Regions from separate parts of the Homo sapiens genome. Here region 1 is linked to region 2. The links are contacts of gene promoters, found by promoter capture Hi-C in blood cells and fetal thymus (Javierre and others, 2016). All regions are on one chromosome and are shown on one strand. Each heading gives the region's core, a stretch centred on a gene start or on the middle of the fragment in contact. The rest is flanking DNA. Distances are from core to core; before and after follow the strand shown.

Evidence for each region. Contacts are between HindIII fragments. The CHiCAGO score rates a contact against its expected background, and 5 or more counts as called.
Region 1: a fragment that was not itself captured here is called in contact with the fragment with the promoter of UPF1 in region 2 in 1 of 17 cell types (megakaryocytes); the score reaches 5.3 in megakaryocytes.

What each region holds. Positions count from the first base shown.
Region 1 is chr19:18,643,279-18,646,437 of GRCh38, forward strand. All of the region lies in intron 1 of KLHL26 (kelch like family member 26), which reads left to right. Among named protein-coding and RNA genes, the nearest start is that of KLHL26, 7.8 kb to the left of the region's middle. The HindIII fragment of the contact is 374 bases long and covers 1,355-1,728 here.
Region 2 is chr19:18,830,453-18,833,970 of GRCh38, forward strand. UPF1 (UPF1 RNA helicase and ATPase) reads left to right here and starts at 1,507. Exons shown (of 24, transcript NM_002911.4): 1 at 1,507-1,988. The coding sequence starts at 1,758. RefSeq lists silencers at 1,311-1,570, 1,691-1,790, 1,941-2,030, 2,041-2,120. The HindIII fragment of the contact is 13,345 bases long and covers 1-3,518 here.

The DNA.
Region 1 (3,159 bases), core at 292-2,791, 190 kb before region 2:
TACTAAAAATACAAAAATTAGCCAGGATTGGTGGCACGTGCCTGTAATCCCAGCTACTCGGGAGGCTGAGGCAAGAGAATCACTTGAACCCGGGAGGCAGAGGTTGCAGTGAGCTGAGATCGCTCCACTGCGCTCCCACCTGGGCGAGAGAACCAGACTGTCTTAAAAAATATATATATTATTTTATAGAGATGGGGTCTTATTATTATTTTTTTTTGAGATAGAGTTTTGCTCTTGTTGTCCAGGCTATAGTGCAATGGCATGATCTCGGTTCACCAAAACATCCGCCTCCTGGGTTCAAGCGATTCTCCTGCCTCAGCCTCCCGAGTAGCTGAGATTACAGACATGTGCCACCATGCCTGGCTAATTTTGTATTTTTAGTAGAGATGCGGTTTCTCCATCTTGGTCAGGCTGGTCTCGAACTCCTGACCTCAGGTTATCCGCCCACCTTGGCCTCCTAAAGTGCTGCGATTACAGGCATGAGCCACTGTGTCCGGCCAAGATGGGGTCTGATTATGTTGCCCAGGCTGGTCTTGAACTCCTGGGCTCAAGTGATCTTCCTGCCATAGCCTCCCGAAGTGCTGGGATTACAAGCATGAACCACTATGCCCAACCTGTATTTTTGTTTTTTGTTTTTGAGGTACTATATATGTAACACAAAATTCACCCACTTTAAGTGAACAATTCAGTGGCATTTAGTACATTCACAGAATTGTGCAACCATCACTGCTGTCCAGTTCCAAAACATCTTTGTCCCCGCAAAAGGTGACCCCATCTTCATTAGCACTAACCCCCTATTCTCCATTGCCCAGCCCCTGACAATCACCAATCTGCAGTCTGTCTCTATCCGTTTTCAAGTTTTATAGGTAGAATCATGCACTATGTGGCCTTTTGAGTCTGGCTTCTTTCACTCAGCATGATGCTTTGGGGGTCATGCATGTTGTAGCCTAAATCAGCACTTCATTCCTTTTTATGGCTGAGTAATATTCCACTGTGTGGATGCACCACATCATCCATTCATCTGTTGATGGACACTTAGATTGGTTCCACCTTTTGGCTATTATGAATCATGCTGCTATGAACATGAGTGTACACATTTTTGTCTAAACACTCATGTTCAGTCCTTTGGGGTACACATCTAGGAGCAGAATTGCTGGGGCGCATGCTTGTTGTATATTCTTGATCATGCTGGTCACCACCTAACGTTATTTGTTGTGTTTCTCTGGTGCCTTGAGGTTGGAAAGCCTGTCTCTCTTGTGCCCTCTTGTGTGCCTGGAACATGAATGACACAGAAGGAGGAAGTGTCCCAGAGACGTGGCTGAGAGGGAGGAAGGGAGGGATGGGGGTGTGCAAAAGCTTATTGCTCTCTGAGGCTTGCAGTCTGGCAGGTAGGAATTCCCTTCTATGGGATCAGGTCGATCTTTTGCCTTTCCAGTGAGGCTTGTGGGGCTGCTGGGGGGCAGTGGGGGCTGGCCTTAGTCTCTAGCTGCCTTTCTAGCCTGCCAGGCAACGCCCGCATCTGCCTTTTTGTCCCACGAAGGTTTTGTCTTTTGGCCAGGGGCGGGGGCAGTTCCTGTCTTCCCCCTGGCCCTTCCAGCGGTACCACAACTCAAGAAACTGTCCCCAGGAGGGACTGCGCTCCCCCACCCCCGACCGCCCCCAACGTTATATAACTTGTTTGTTCCAACTTCTGTCTTCTGCAACCGAGGGGGAAAAAAGAAAGAGAAAAGCTTATTCTCCTTCCTTCCTATCTCGAGGGATCAACAAAAAACCCGTTGCCTAGTAGAGGTGGTCATTAATGACTGAGCCGAACCTCAGGGATGGACAGAGTGGGGCTGCCCTGGCTGGGGTGTGCGGAGAGGAGGTGGGGTCCTTGCTGCAAGCACAAAGGACACTTGTTCACCAGCTGGCCTCCTCCCAGCTCGGGCCGCGGGGTCTAGACTCCTTGGAGGGAAAGGAGGCTTGGGCCACTTGGGGTGTCGCAAGGGGAGGCAAACCCTCTGGGGAGTCGCACCTCCCCAGCTAAAATTCTGTCACTGTGAGGTACCTGACCGGCAGAGTTTTGGAGGAACCTTCTGGCCTTGCAGCCTCTCCGACATGGGCCTTTGGCATCCACGCTTTTTGGCCCACGCTCCCTGGAGACGCCTGGGTAGGGCCCAGGCTCACTGAGTCATGCTGTTCCTGGGGGTGAGGTGGGGGGATCTGGGTGAGGGATGTGCCAGCTTCAGGCATTTGCATAAGAAGTGGTGGCTAGGCTGGGTGCTTTGGCTCACTCCTGTAATCCCAGCACTTTGGGAGCCCAAGGCAGGCAGATTACAAGGTCCAGAGTTTGAGACCAGCCTGGCCAACATAGTGAAACCCCCTCTCTACTAAAAATACAAAAATTAGTCAGGTGTGGTGGTGGGCGTCTTTAATCCCAGCAACTCTGGAGGTTGAGGCAGGAGAATCGCTTGAACCTGGGAGGAGGAGGTTGCAATGAGCCGAGATCCTGCCACTGCACTCCAGCCTGAGCGACAGAGTGAGACTCTGTATCAAAAAAAAAAAAAAAAGAAGTGATGGCTGGGACGTTGTGCCCAGGGGCTTTGCTGCCTGCTGAAAGTGTTTGCATGGAAAGTTGTGGCCGAGACGCTGCGCCCGGTGGGTTTGTCACAGTCAGTCTGGCTGGGTGGCCTTTGCCTGTTGAAGCTTTCTCCACAATCTAGATCATCTCCACCAAGCCCAGAGGCCTTGGAAGGGTCCAGCCCCCCAGCTCCTGCTAGGAAGACTTAGGGGAAGAGGTGGCTTCCCAAGGAGGTTCTTGCTACTTTGGGGAAGTTCTCATTCCTTTGGCCTCTTGCCCCTTTCTTTTTTATTATTATTAATTTTTTTTGACGTCACTCTGAGCTCAGGCTGGAGTGCAGTGGCATGATTTTGGCTCACTGCAACCTCCGCCTTCTGGGTTCAAGTGATTCTCCTGCCTCAGCCTCCCAAGTAGCTGGGACTACAGGCGCCCACTACCATGCCTGGCTAGTTTTTGTATTTTTAGGAGAGATGGGGTTTCATCATGTTGGCCAGGCTGGTCTCGAACTCCTGACCTCAGGTGATCCACCTGCCTTGGCCTCCCAAAGTGCTGGGATTACAGGCATGAGCCAGTGCGCCCGGCCTCATGCCCCTTTCAGA
Region 2 (3,518 bases), core at 257-2,756:
GAGCTACTAGTCACTCTATTTATATTAACATAAATAAATATATATTAATATACACACACACACATAGGATCTCTGTCACCCAGGCTGGAGTGCAGTGGCACAATCATAGCTCACCGCAGCCTCAAACTCCTGAGCTCAAGTGATTCTCTTGCCTCTACCTCCTAAAGTGCTGGGATTTCAGGAAAGAGCCACCTTGCCCAGGCTTCCTATGCCACCTTAATGGCAACAGAAACCCTAGGCTCAGAGAGGTTAAGTCACTTGTATAATTTCACACAGCTGGTAAGTGGTCAGGTCTAGAGTCCACCACAGACCATGTGCTTCCAGTTGTTTTGCTGTATACGTCCACTAAATAATAATCATAGCAAAAATAGTAATGGTATAATAACAGTGGCAGAGGCATCAGGAACAGCAGCAACCATCATTTCCAAGTGCCAGGCCCAGTACGTAAGACTATCCCCATTCATTTATTTTTACTTATTTTTGAGACAGGGTCTCGCTCTGTCACCCAGGCTGGAGTGCAGTGGTGCAATCTCGGCTTACTGCAGCCTCAACTTCCCAGGGTCAAGCGATCCTCCCACCTCAGCCTCCCTAGTAGCTGGGACTACAGGTGCGAACCACCACGCTTAGCTAATTTTTTTTTTTTTTTTTGAGACAGAGTCTCACTCTGTTGCCCAGGCTGGTGTGCAGTGGCACAATCTTGGCTCACTGCAACCTCCGCCTCCTGGGTTCAAGCGATTCTCCTGCCTCAGCCTCCTGAGTAGCTGGGACTACAGGCTCGTGCCACCACGCCTGGCTAATTTTTTGTATTTTTAGTGGAGACGGGGTTTCACCATGTTAGCCAGGATGGTCTCGATCTCCTGACGTCATGATCCACCCGCCTCGGCCTCCCAAAGTGCTGGGATTACAGGCGTGAGCCACCGCGCTCGGCCTAATTTTTATATTTTTTGTAGAGATGGAGTCTCACTCTGTCTCCCAGGCTGGTCTCGAACTCCTGAGTTCAAGCAGTTCTCCCGCCTCAGCCTCTGAGTGTTGGGATTACAGGTGTGACCACCGCGCCGAGCCCCACTCCCTTTTTAAACCAATGCACAGGGAGCATCTACTATGTGCGAGGCACCCTCCATTTTACAGATGGGGAAACTGAGTTCCAAGCAGCTTTTGCCAGGAGTGGGAGCGCACCGTCCCTGCCCAGTCTCTCCAGTTGGGCGTTCCGAGACCACCTATGTAGGGTATTCGGCTAGCGCTCAATTAAACCGAAACACCGTCGCAGCGACCACAGGTGCAGACCACCAAGTCCACACCGCCAGCCGCCCGGGCGTCCCCAATTAGCAGTTGGGGCGGGACCAAGTCCTCGAGCTGCCGCCGCAGCGGCGGTTGAAAGCCCCACCCCCTGCGCGTGCGCGGTGCGCGTCCCGTCTTCCTGCTGGGCACCAGGCGCCCGCGAAGAGCGCGCGCGCTTCCGCCGGCGTCGGGCTCGCGCACGCGCACGGCGACGGCGGCGGTGGCGGCAGTTCCTGCTCTAGGCTGCGAGCGGCTGGCGGCTTCGAGGGGAGCTGAGGCGCGGAGGGGCTCGGCGGCAGCGGCGGCGGCTCGGCACTGTTACCTCTCGGTCCGGCTGGCGCCGGGGCGCGCGGTTTGGTCCTTTCCGGGCGCGCGGGGGCGACAGCGGCAGCGACCCGAGGCCTGCGGCCTAGGCCTCAGCGCGGCGGCGGGCTCGAGTGCAGCGCGGAACCGGCCCGAGGGCCCTACCCGGAGGCACCATGAGCGTGGAGGCGTACGGGCCCAGCTCGCAGACTCTCACTTTCCTGGACACGGAGGAGGCCGAGCTGCTTGGCGCCGACACACAGGGCTCCGAGTTCGAGTTCACCGACTTTACTCTTCCTAGCCAGACGCAGACGCCCCCCGGCGGCCCCGGCGGCCCGGGCGGTGGCGGCGCGGGAGGCCCGGGCGGCGCGGGCGCGGGCGCTGCGGCGGGACAGCTCGACGCGCAGGTGAGCGGCACATGGCGGTGCCGGAAGCCCGGGCCCGGCCTCGGCGCCTGAGACCTGCCCCGAACTCGCCTCGGGCCCGGCCTGTGTTTGGCCGGAGTCCCCCATCGCGGCCGGGCCTGGGGCGATCTGCCCCGGGTCCCCTACTCTGGCTCGGCCTGAGCTTACCTGCCCCAGGTCCTGCAATCTGCCCGGGCCTGGCCTGATCTGCCCCGGGTCCCCCGCTCCGGCCGCGACCTGGCTGAGTTCCTTCGGCCCCCAACTCCTGGGCCGGGCAGACTTGCCTCGAGTCCTCCACTTCGTTCGGGACCGAGCTAACCTGACCCTGTTCCTTTACGCCAGCTGGGTTTGCTCCCCCTCCTGGGCCCGGGCTGACCTGCCTTGTGTCCCACAATCAGTCTGGCCTGGAGTAACCTGCCCCCTGACTTATCTGAGTTCTTCCATTCCATCCGGGCTAGGGTGACCTGCCCTGGTCCCTCTTTCGCAGGTCTCGGTATTCTGCCTCGAGTTCTCCTACGACCTGGGCCGGGTCTTGCTCAGGCCGGAGCTTGAGTGACTTCCCTCAGTCCCTTTCCGGGAGTATCCAGGGTGACCTGCCCTAATCCTGTCTCTGGCCTGGTCCGGGGGTCCTGCCCGGTCTCCCCATTGGTGGGTCTGGCCGCCTGTCCCACCTCCCATCTGTGGTCGCAGCCATCTGGGCACCCCACCTTTCACAGTCACGGAGCGTAGGTTCGACTTTCCCCATGCATAGGGGCGCTGGCCAGCGGAAGGTTGAGGCAGAGAAGAATTTTTGCCTCCCATGGAGGAGCACATATTGGCTGGCTATTAAGATCATTCAGGAAGCAGGTTGTATTTTGTTTTTTCTTGCATCGCCTGTTGCTGAAACCGACCTGTTACATAACTTCACAACTCTTGCCTTGGAAAAGTTGGGTTTGAGTTTTGTTCTTCCAATAAGACAGCAATAATGGCTTTACATAAACGAGTCTGCCACGTTGGAAACTTATTTTTAATGATGTGGATGTTTAGAGAAGGTTACTTAGGTATTTTAAATGGGGGCTTGGGTTGGGAGAAGTATCGGGCATGCATTTCCTGGTCCTGGGCGCTGCTTGCCTGGGGTGGGAGAGGGGCTGGGGGGGTGGCGCGTGTTGCACCGGGGTCCTGGGGAATGTCCTCATCACCCTCTGGATTTCAGGTTGCTTTCACCTTAGGCTTGCTTTGTGCCTGACCTCTCGCTCAGGTTTGTTTTCCTGAATGCTCCGACAGGAAGAAGCTCCGAGGCTTACCTTGGCACAGGTGTCCCTTGGCATATGCTGGTGTTTCAGAACTGGGGGAACCACTCCTTGCTCATCCAGAGTGAGCTCAGACCCTGTCCTTGCATGGGGGGCTTACGTGGTAGTCGATTGAGTCACTCTCGTGGGTAGACCACCCACTTGGGCTTTCTTTTAGCCCCTAATGGAAGCAAAAAACATTTGACTCATTCTAACCCCATATTCCTTAAAATAGAAGGTGGGGTGTGAGGAGAACAGGTGTGCA